2 separate regions of the Homo sapiens genome follow, and region 1 is linked to region 2. Evidence: promoter capture Hi-C in 16 types of primary human blood cells and fetal thymus (Javierre and others, 2016). All regions are on one chromosome and are shown on one strand. Each heading gives the region's core, a stretch centred on a gene start or on the middle of the fragment in contact. The rest is flanking DNA. Distances are from core to core; before and after follow the strand shown. Region 1 overlaps ATXN7 (ataxin 7). Region 2 holds the start of PSMD6 (proteasome 26S subunit, non-ATPase 6).

The links. The method cuts DNA at HindIII sites, captures the fragments that hold promoters and counts their contacts. A CHiCAGO score of 5 or more calls a contact.
Region 1: a fragment that was not itself captured here is called in contact with the fragment with the promoter of PSMD6 in region 2 in 3 of 17 cell types (total CD8 T cells, total CD4 T cells and naive CD8 T cells); the score reaches 7.7 in total CD8 T cells.

Annotation. Positions count from the first base shown.
Region 1 is chr3:63,908,005-63,913,578 of GRCh38, reverse strand. ATXN7 (ataxin 7) reads right to left here. Exons shown (of 13, transcript NM_001377405.1): 3 at 656-991; 4 at 354-422. The coding sequence starts at 980. It also overlaps SCAANT1. Among named protein-coding and RNA genes, the nearest start is that of ATXN7, 47 kb to the right of the region's middle. RefSeq lists a silencer at 678-1,517 and an enhancer at 1,848-1,927. The HindIII fragment of the contact is 1,242 bases long and covers 1,974-3,215 here.
Region 2 is chr3:64,021,918-64,027,361 of GRCh38, reverse strand. PSMD6 (proteasome 26S subunit, non-ATPase 6) reads left to right here and starts at 3,868. Exons shown (of 8, transcript NM_014814.3): 1 at 3,868-4,087; 2 at 4,839-5,044. The coding sequence starts at 3,943. LOC105377121 (a long non-coding RNA gene) reads right to left here and starts at 3,287. Exons shown (of 3, transcript XR_940906.3): 1 at 3,211-3,287; 2 at 2,620-2,737; 3 at 1,002-1,150. RefSeq lists a silencer at 3,660-3,759 and enhancers at 3,322-3,943, 3,910-4,259, 3,944-4,566. The HindIII fragment of the contact is 6,204 bases long and covers 449-5,444 here.

The sequences.
Region 1 (5,574 bases), core at 1,345-3,844, 110 kb after region 2:
AAGCATTCGTGGAAAGGTTTCAAAGCTGAGAATTCCTTCCTCTACTCCTGTTTCTCCGTAAGGAGGTCAGAAATGCAGAGATCTAGGTTAAACTTCCCGCCGGTTCCCAGCGCTCATCACCAATAATGCTGCTCCTGCCTGGTCACAGAAGGATTCCGGACGCTCTCATTACAGGAGGCCCCCAAACCAAACTTTCCAAGCGCTCTGCCCCCTCCCTCCCTCCTCAGGCAGCATCTTCGCAGGCACGGGGAGTCGGGGAGTCGGTATGGTGGGCTGATGTTCCCGGTCCCAGTGAACTGTCAATGAAACTTCCCAGGGGTTTGTACAAACTCCATCAGGGGGGCTGGACTCACCTTCCCGACAGAGCCCCATGACTTCGCGGTTTTTCCCAAACTCCTTGAAACTTTCGTCCAATTCTGTCCCTAGGAGATATACACACACAGGAGGAGGGGAGAGGCAGGTCAGTGGCCAGGAGTGTGACGCACACTCACGCACGCACGGGGTAGGTGTGGGCACCTCCGCGTTCCGCAACCCAGCAAACGATAGCATCTCTGCCCCTCGAGGGGGCGGGTCACAGGAGGGGGGCAGGGGGGAGGGGAGGAGAGAGGAGGGGGTCGCGAGGGGGTGAAGGGGGGAGGAGGGCGTGGACACTCACCGTCCTTCCCAGGAAGTTTGGAAGCCTCAACCCACAGATTCCACGACTGTCCCAGCATCACTTCAGGACTGGGCAGAGGCCTGCGCTCCCCGACCGTCGCCATTGCGGCGGCCGAGGTGGAGGCGGCGCCGGGCCCGCCGTCCTCCGGCCGTGTGCGCCGTGGCGGCGGTGGCGGGTGCTGCTGCCGCTGGGGCTGCGGAGGCGGCGGCTGCTGCTGCTGCTGCTGCTGCTGCTGCTGCCGGGCGGCCGCGGCCGCTGCTCCGCCCGCCGCCGCCGCCGCGCGGCGCGGCTCCCCCCTGACGTCATCCGCGGCCCGCTCCGACATTCTTTCCGCTCCTACAATGTAACAAAAAAAAGGGGGAAAGAGTCGCGCGGGGGCCGTTTTTTAAGGAGGCGCCAGGGAGTTCCGGCGGCGTGCGCGGCCCGCGGACCGGGTGGGGCACGCTGACAGCGCCCCCATGGCCGCCCAGCCCCCCGAGCCCGCCTCCTCAAGGCCACCCCCCGCCCCGGGCTCAAAGTCCGCGGCGCGGGCTAGCTTTCGCTTTCGACTCCCGCGGCCGCCCGAGGGAGGGGACGGGCAGCAGGCGGCCCGCCACCGCGGCGCTGGGTCCCCTGCCTGCTTCTGCTCAGAGGACCTGGCGCGGAGGCCAGCGCCGGAGCGGCCCGGCTCCAACCCCGCGCCCCACCATGGCAGCCCGCGCGGGGAAGCCCGAGCCGCACCCCAGGACCTCCAGCTGCCCACCCTTCGGCCGCTTGCATCCCCGGGCCCGGCCCGGCTGCCCCGCTCCTTCCTTCCGTCCGCGCGTCCGTCCGAGCGGCGGCACCCGGCCGGCTCCCTTAAGCGGAGACGCCTCCCGCCGCCTCCTCCCACTTGCCGGTCCCTCCCTCTCAGCTCGCTCCGGCGAAGTTTGCACGTCAAGCCCCCGGACTGGAGCCAGGGCGAAGTCGGAAATGCAGCCACCTATGGAGGAGCCGGCCGGCCGGCCCCAGGGCAGCGCGGGAGAGGCTGGTGCAGGGGGCACTTTGCCCTCGGCTTGCGGGCGGCCGCAGAGTTGTCAAAAGCATGAATGGGAAGCCGCCGCAGAGCGGACTCCGGGCGTGCAGGGAACCTTGGGCTAGCGGGGAAGTGCCTCCCAGGTGTCTGCCCAGGTGTCAGGACGAAGTACCGTGTGCACGCCACGCCGCCCACATGTGTGCCCCCGACCCGCAATTGGAAGTCACACTGTGCGCCTGGGGAACTTGAATTCGTCCAGCAAAGAGAGAACATGAGATCAGTGTGCGAGGGAATGGAGGAGAGTGAAACAAACCGAGAGAAGCTTTAACCCGTGTACATATTTTAGAGGCACCACCCCAAGTTTCTGGAAGTGATTCATTCACCCCAAAAGTAAAAATCTGATTCATTTTTAACTTGAGTTGTTAGTCCTTCCCTCTTTATGGTTGTCTTTTCTTGGGCAGGACGAGACCCTAGGGATTAGGAGAATATAAGGAATTCCTACAAAACATGTTTAGAAAATACTGTTTTCGGTCAAATTTTGTTCACTAAATTAAGCATTGGCCCGCAAAACTTAGCACCCCTCCCCAACATACACAACATTTGCTTAGCGATAGGCTACAGATGGCAAAATAAAAGGCTACTTAATGACCTAAAGCATTAAAAATACTTGAAACAGTAGCAGACCACACCACTTTCAATAATTGTTGATATTACTATTTTCTCAAATTGATGTGAAAATTTGAAGCCTGAGACAAAAACAGTGATTCTTATCAGCATGTTTCACGCATGTTTCACACTGCAGTAGTATCAACTCCTGTAATGTGTGTCAGAGATGCTTGCTCACAAGTGCTTTCTCTGACTAGATGGGGAGGAAGTGGAATTCTTTTTTTTTTTGTACCTCAAACATCTGATGTGACAGAGGTAGCCAACTTCTTTGTTGGTCCAACTTGCAGAAACACAGGAAGTTTACATAAGCATAAAAATTAATAAAGAAATGTCACTGCAACCCAAACATAAGGTGGGATTGCTAGAGAGGGTTTGGGGTTCAAAATTTAAAAGCGCACACACACACACATACTTACACATACACACACACACACACATTTTTATTTTAGAAAGATTTAGAAATAAGTCTGTAAAATTTTTTCCTGGATTGCGTGCAAACAAGTCCAAAAAGTGAAACCATGGTTACTTCCTGTCCTTATCAAAATAACCAAAATAGTAGAAATGATTGGAAAGATTTAATTTTAAAAATCATTTCTACAGCTTTAACTTCCTCCATAAGACTATCAATGAGAAAAATGCACAGGAGTAAAACATATAATTCCCTTGACAGGAATAGAGTTCCCTTCTAACTTTTAACATAGCTTAGATGACCCCTATGCAGATTTTCAATTTTTCATTCATTCCAAATCACTGCAAAATCTGAATAATTACATGAAAACACCCAACCTCTGTTTTCCTAAAGTACACAATTTATTACTTGGAATTGTGAAATTCTACACTTAAGAAAAACGAAAATTTGGATTTTAACGGCATTTGAAGCTACCATTGAAAAGAAAAGCTTGCGGCCACCAAGCCATATAGATAACAAAGGGAGCTTGCTTGTTGAGTACAGCTCTTCAGATCCCTGAAACTACAGAGTGAGAACAAAAATAAGGAGAATGGCAAACATGAAGTATGGTCCTACTTCCTCAAGACATTGCTTGACTTTCCTCTTTTGGATGTGAAACTACTTCAAGATTCACTAATATGACTTCTAGCCAATGGGGATCAATGCAGCAATTTAGAGTACTTCAACTTCTTTCCCAATTCCTGCTTGATACCTCTTTTTTTCTTCAAAGTTTTTGATTGGTTTAATAAAACACAAGCGGGCTTAAAATGAAAAATATTAAGTATCCTCTTGGCATTATGATCGTTATTAAGGGAAATTATTACAAATAGCAGTTACCAATTATTGAGTACCTCAATACTCAAAACTAATAGCAAGCTATCAATTATTGAGGAATCTCATAAATAAGCACTATAAATAAGTGTCTTATATTAAACTGAGCAATTCAGCTCAATCCCTTAGGAAACTTACTATCAAACTGAAGAGGATGTGCAGACAAGAGATTGACGGGCATTTCCTGGTATTTCTTCAACCAGTTCTCTTTTGCTGCAGCCAATGCATTTTACCCACTCTTTCTTCACCCATAAAAAAGTCCTAACTCCTAGAAATGTTCTGATATCCATAGTCGTTAGAAGTTTCCTTAAAGTTGGAATGAGTCACCAAAAAAAGTCAAAACAGCAAGCTGACACACTGCATCTGATATCTGAATTTTGGCAACTTTTAAAAGCATTCCTTATGCAAAGCATACTGTTTATAAACAAGAGTACAACAGAAACCCAATACTTAGCTGTATTACCTACAGTCCCACAGTAAAGAACTTGATGACCTCTTACCTAGATAATCCCCTTTCCATACCACCAAATTATAAAAAGAATATAACTGTGTATAAATTTTTTTTGTGTGTATGTGTGTGTGGAGATGACAAGGTCTCACTATGTTGCCCAGGCTGGTCTCAAACTCCTGAGCCCAAGCAGTCCTCCTGCCTTGGCCTCCAAAAGTGTTGGGATTATAGGCATGAGCCACCACACCAGGCCAATACAATTTACATTCACTTAATATGTTATTTTAATATAGTATTATGCCTGTATAATATCAATCAGTGCTTCTGCCAGTGCATTTCTGATGATGCCTTGTAACTCTGAGGAACTTCACTGTCTGAAAACTTAAGTAATAATTCATTTTATATGGCTTGAATAATGAGTATTCAATTTATCCAACAATTCCTGATTGCCTGCTACAGACTAGGCACTCTACTAGGCACCAGGGTGAACACAAGATAGTAATTTCACTGAGTATGTGAGAAAAGTAGTAAGTAGGGGAAACAATTCATCAAAACTGTCACCACCAACTAGATTGTCTATGGCTTAAGAACTGGGCTGTCAGAGGTGAAGTACTGCTAATTCTGTGCATTTCATCCCTTCCAAGGACATATTTAAAATGTGGTCTTATCTCGTCACCCAAATTTAGGGATGTTCTCAGTAGATGCCAAGGCTAACAAGTCTCTCTTTACAAAAAGGATTCTTTGCACTCATAAAATGTTTTGTTCCAAGGCCAAAGGTATCACAATGTACAAAAACAAAACAAAACAAAAAGTTGACCTTTCCTACATTAAATCCAGTTTAATGTAAAAAGGCTAAAACTACCCAAAACATTTCTAAGATACAAGATCCCACACAACCGTCTTCAATTGGAAAAAACCACCAGTCCCAGTACAACATTTTAATAAACTTGAAAAGCAGTTAACTACAGTATACTTATCTGTGTAAATTACAGGGTTGGTAACAGAGATTCTCCATTATCAACCCCAAAGGACTGAAGTCATTTGAGTAACAAGAAACTCAGATCCACTAAATTAGGAATGTGTTGGCTTTGGTTTCTTTTTATCTTCCTAAAATTGGCTGAGCCTTTGTTCAAATCCTCTCTCACTCCTCTGACTACATCTTTCCCCTTTCCTCGTTCTTCTCCAGAGAGAGCCAGGGCTGTATTCTGCACAAGGGGCATGCCTTTCCTTAACTATGCTCCCTCTAGTGAAGTACCTTACAGCTTGTCATGAATATCAGTATTCCAGTAGAGGGAGAACAGTGGAAAGAGTAAATTGAATTCATCAGCTTAGTGGCTGGAATTCATAGCAATCAAGTGCAAAATTAGGAATAATAAGGAAAGTTGCAAGAGTGAGGACTTAAAAGATAAGACATAAATAGCTTTTTGAAAACTCAACCTGTACACATACTCATTCTATAGTAAAATGCATCATTTGCTAAACATCTCAAACCCTTAAATTTTTGGATTGTTTTCTTAATCATATGTTTGCAT
Region 2 (5,444 bases), core at 2,619-5,118:
GTCAATATGGGGCAAAGAGCTGCTTTGATCAGCTGGGCAGTCAAATCACAGCCACAGTTCAGGGCTCGATTGATTCCTCAGCAATTAATGGTTATGATAGTAAAAAGAGAAGAAGACAGATCTGACTGGAAATTGGTCTCCTCTGTGCTGAGTGGAGAGGCTGACAGCAGGGCATTGTGCACCTTGAAGCTCATTTGCACCTGGAATAATGAAGAGTCATAGAATCCCCTGCAATTGAGATTTTCTGGCAATTGCAACCTTAATTTGATTATGCGTCTATACTAGGACGAACTGGAAACCAGAATGAACCAGTCACATACAATTTAAACTACAAGACTATTTATACAGGTTTCCCCCTATACTTCAACATGAGTTTTGGATCATACATCCAATTCTTGTCACAAATGTAAACAGGCTGATACATTTAACTATGTAAACATTGTAAGCTTTTATGTTGAAGAAAAACCCCTAAAAATTTAGAAAAATAAATGAGGGGGGAAACTGTGATACTTGGAAATTAACAAAGTTAATATCCTTAAAATATGAAGATTGCTTACTAGTCAGTGAGGAAAGATTCCATAGAGAATTGACAAAGCCAAACAAGAATTTCATAAAACAGAAAATATATGTGGTCAGTAAAATGTGAAAAAAAGATTAACCTCACCAATCATAAAAGGAATGCAAAGGAAAAGCAACTGTTAGCAAAACTTAAAATAGCTGATGAAAGTACATTGGGAGACAGGTCTGATGGGGTTCAGGACACGCAATCTCAAAATATCACACCTTGTGCTTTGAGGAAGTGGTAGAAGCAGGAAGGTCACTCTCATCTTCTCTGTGCCCTTCTCGCTTGAAGCCAGTTATAAAAGAATTCCCTGAACTTCCTATAAGGTAGGTCATAAGACCCTCATTCCAAACATATTATCCCTATGCTCAAAGAAAAGAAATCCCTTATATATGAAGATACAGGGACACAGAGAAGAATCTGAACACACAGACCTTGGTAAGTCCCCCCAGTTTATTACCATCACATCACACCCCCTTTGACCAATCATACTTCTACATAACTGTCCATTCTTCATCAAATTTACCTTACAAATATACAGATTTCTTCATTTCTTTGGGTCTTCATTTCCAAAGGCTCTCATGTCACCTAAAATTTATATTAAATATATTTGTATGCTTTTCTTCTGTTATTTTATTTATTTTATTTTTTTTGAGACAAAGTGTCACTCTGTCACCCAGGTTGGAGTGCAGTGGCACAATCTCAGCTCACTGCAACCTCCGCCTGCTGGGTTCAAGCAATTCTCCTGCCTCAGCCTCCCGAGTAACTGGGACTACAGGTGTGCGCCACCATGCCCTGCTAATGAGGTTTCACCATGCTGGCCAGGCTGGTCTCAAATTCCTGACCTCGTGATCTGCCTGCCTCAGCCTCTTAAAATGCTGGGATTACAGGTGTGAGCCACCTCTCCTGGCCCTGCTATTCTATCTTTTATTATAGGTGCCTCAGCTATGAACCTCGCAATGGGTGAAGAAAGGATACTACTTTTTCTCCCCTGCAGGTTCTCTGTTCAATATTAGTGGCAATGTAAATTGATATATATATCATTTGTGGAAAATAATTCATAAAATACTTACAGAATACATCAAAATATAAAATATTAATGCCCTCTTATTCAGCAATTGCACGTCTAGAGATTTAGATTGAGAAATAACTATTTAAGTGTGAAAATATATATGTACACGGATAAGTGACACTGTAATATTAATAAGATTGAAAAAAACAAAAATAACCCAAATCAACCAGCACTTAAGGACTGATGAAGAAAAAGTTGGTATAGAAATATAATGGGCCGGGTGTGGTGGCTCACACCTGTAATCCCAGCATTTTGGGAGGCTGAGGTGGGCGGATCTCCTGAGGTCAGGAATTCGAGACCAGCCTGGCCAATATGGTGAAACCCCGTCTCTACTAAAAATACAAAAATTAGCCAGGCTTGGTGGCACGTGCCTGTAATCCTAGCTACTCAGGAGGCCAAGGCAGGAGAATCGCTTGAACCCGGGAGATGGAGGTTGCAGTGAGCCAAGATCACCCCACTGTACTCCAGCCTGAGATCCGTCTCAAACAGAGTGAGATCCGTCTCAAAAATAACAAACAAACAGAAATAAATATAATGGAATCCTATATGGTCAATCCATTGTCATCCAAGATATCCACAATACATGGTAGAATGAATAAAACACAGTTTAAAATGTGCGAGTATAGAATGATCATGTTAATATACCCAGATGAGTTTTAAAGAAGCTATGCTTCTCTGGAATGTAAGTTCCAAAGACAGGGCTTTGTGCTCTTCACTGCTGAGTCCTTGAGGCCTAAGACAGTGCCTGGTACTTTGTAACCATGCAATCATGTTTGTTGAATGACTAAATGAAAGAATTTTAGAAAGTTTTTTACCAAAAGTTTAGCAGTGGTGGAGAGCTATTTAATAGTATTTTTTTTTTACTCTTCATATTTTCTCTATCATTTGAGTTGTCTTCAAAATGCTTGTTTCATTTTTATAGAAACAAATAATAGATTTAAATTATGTGATGATGCCTACTGCCTGTGAGATGTGGCAGTCTCACCTGTTTCAGCAGCTGTGTAAACTGGTTCAGCTCTTTTGGAAAACCATTTAACATTAAATATCCCCAAGTCACAAAATCCTTCTTCCCTTTGTCCGTTATTCCTTCATGGGATTTTATGCTAAGGAAAAAGATGCAAAACATGAAGTGATCTAGACATCCAAAGTCTTCATCCAAGTTTTTATATTAGGTAAGTAAAAACTCTGGTCAACCTAAAGACACCTCTAACAGAGGGAAGAGTGAAAGTAAATTATGGTAAATCCATTAGATGGAATTTAGGCCAGGCATGGTGGCCCACACCTGTAATCCCAGCACTTTGGACGACTGAGGCGGGGGAATCACTTGAGGTCAGAAGGTCAAGACCAGCCTGGCCAACATGGTGAAACCCCGTCTCTACTAAAAATACAAAAATTAGCCCGGCATGGTGGTGCAGGCCTGTAATCCCAGCTACTTGGGAGGCTGAGGCAGGAGAATCGATTGAAGCTGGGAGGCAGAGGTTGCAGTGAGCCAAGATTGTGCCACTGCACTCCAGCCTGGGTGACAGGGCAAGACTCCGTTTCAAAAAAAAAAGGAATTTAATGTAAAGATTACCACCTCTGAAGATCTGTAGCAATGTGAACAAAAGGAAGCTGAAAATGCAGGCATGTAATGATTTAATTTATGTGTAAACAAAACGATGATGCTGTTGTACTATGACGTAGAATCCTGGGTGCAGTTTTTTTTTCTTCTTAAAACCGCAGAAAGAATGTGGATTTTAGAGTTCTAGATAGGGGTTTTCATTTAGGCCTTGCGACATGGCTGTTACATGACCTTGGTTGGTCTGTTTCCCTAACCTCTTTGTGCCTCATTTGTCTTACCTACTAAATAGGCTAATAGTACTACCTCGCAGCATGAAGATGATTTTAATAAGATGAATGAGAGTAACGACTCGACAAACTATGGTGATTGTTTTTATTAATGCTGTTATTACATTTTCAGTTTTCAAAAAATTTTAAGCTCCCATCAGTTACAAACGGAAAGTAAAATAGCTAAAAAGGGAGTGAGAAAGAGATTCAAGAAATTGGGCTTTTGAGTTGGGCTGCACCCACTCTGGGACTCCGCAGGGGGCCTTGAGGGTGGAAAAGCCCCCGTGACCACACAGGGGCGCAGGCGCCCAGGCCGGGTGAGGCGTTCCCGGAGGTGTCCAGCAGAGGACGCTGCCGGCGGAGACGGGACCGGAAGCCGGGCCGCAGGCGGCCGGGCGTATTCGCCGACTCCTCCCGCTTCCGCTGCCGCAGCCGGTCGTAACCAAGTTGTGTCCTGTCAGCCGCTGTCCCCTTCGCCGCGATGCCGCTGGAGAACCTGGAGGAGGAGGGTCTGCCCAAGAACCCCGACTTGCGTATCGCGCAGCTGCGCTTCCTGCTCAGCCTGCCCGAGCACCGCGGAGACGCTGCCGTGCGCGACGAGCTGATGGCGGCCGTCCGCGATAACAGTGAGGCCCGCACGAGCGCCGAGTCAGCGGCCTAGGCCTGGGCCGTCCCCGCGTTCCGGAGCCTGCGGGGACTTTTTTTGATGGAGCTCCAGACCCCTCTGACGGGGTCTCAGAGACCAGGCCTGGCTTCTCCGGCCCTTAGGGTTTTGCTTTGGTTTGGGGATACCCTGGGGGACCTCGACTTGCCTCAGCGGGGTCTGCATCTCTCTGTGCCGCCTTCCCCTGTAAGGGCAGCTTGGGGGAGAATCGTGAGGCATTAATATTTACCCCTGTGCTAGGCACAGAGTAAAGGCCCCGTGACTTTCTGTCAGTGGGGACTGCTCCCGGGCGCGGGGTATTCCTGTGGGAGAGTTCAGCTTGCCTGTGGAAGGGAAATTTGGGTTCGGTTCTTTCTGGCCCTTCTGTAGTGAATGTGTATGTTTGAACATATGTATGTGAGTATGTGTGTATAAAAAGTCTTTCCCTGTTTGAAGACTTTTGGAACAGAATCCGGCAAGAGCAAACCGAGGATTGCCCTCCCTCCAGCCCTAGTAGAGGTTGGCATTGCCAGGATTGGCCGTCACGCAAACCTCCCACCAGCATACGTTTATGTTTTGCCAAGCCGATTATTAAGCGCCATCGCATGCCTTCCTGTTAGTGGGGAAGAGACTGGTGGATGACTTGTGGCGGGGCGGGGGGTGAAATACGTGGGCAGACTTTGACTTGAGGGCACAAGTGTCCCCACTCACACATCCCTCTTTTTGCATGTTAGACATGGCTCCTTACTATGAAGCCTTGTGCAAATCCCTCGACTGGCAGATAGACGTGGACCTACTCAATAAAATGAAGAAGGCAAATGAAGATGAGTTGAAGCGTTTGGATGAGGAGCTGGAAGATGCAGAGAAGAATCTAGGAGAGAGCGAAATTCGCGATGCAATGATGGCAAAGGCCGAGTACCTCTGCCGGATAGGTGACAAAGTGAGTAGAGATGGTTTTCCCTCTCTGTAGTTAGTATAGGCTAAAATTGGAGACTATTCCAGGTAATCGTTTCTCATTAAAAAAATTAACTTCGTTTTAGAAAAAGTATAAAGGTAATCATGCTTGCTTGTACTGGTGAATCAATGTAAAGATGAAAAAGTCGTCTCCATGAAATGCCTTGTCATTTCCCCAAACAGCAGCTAGGGCTGTATTCTTCCCCATTTCACCCCATGCCGATAAAAACGTAAGTGTACATCTAGAGAATTTTATTTACTGCTTTTACAAAATTGGGATCATTTTCAGCAGTTTTCTCACTTGGTTGGGAAGCACTGGTTCTGGTGTCTTTAGTACTTTACACGAGTAATACTTAGCAGAAACTAAGAAACAGTATAGTAAATGC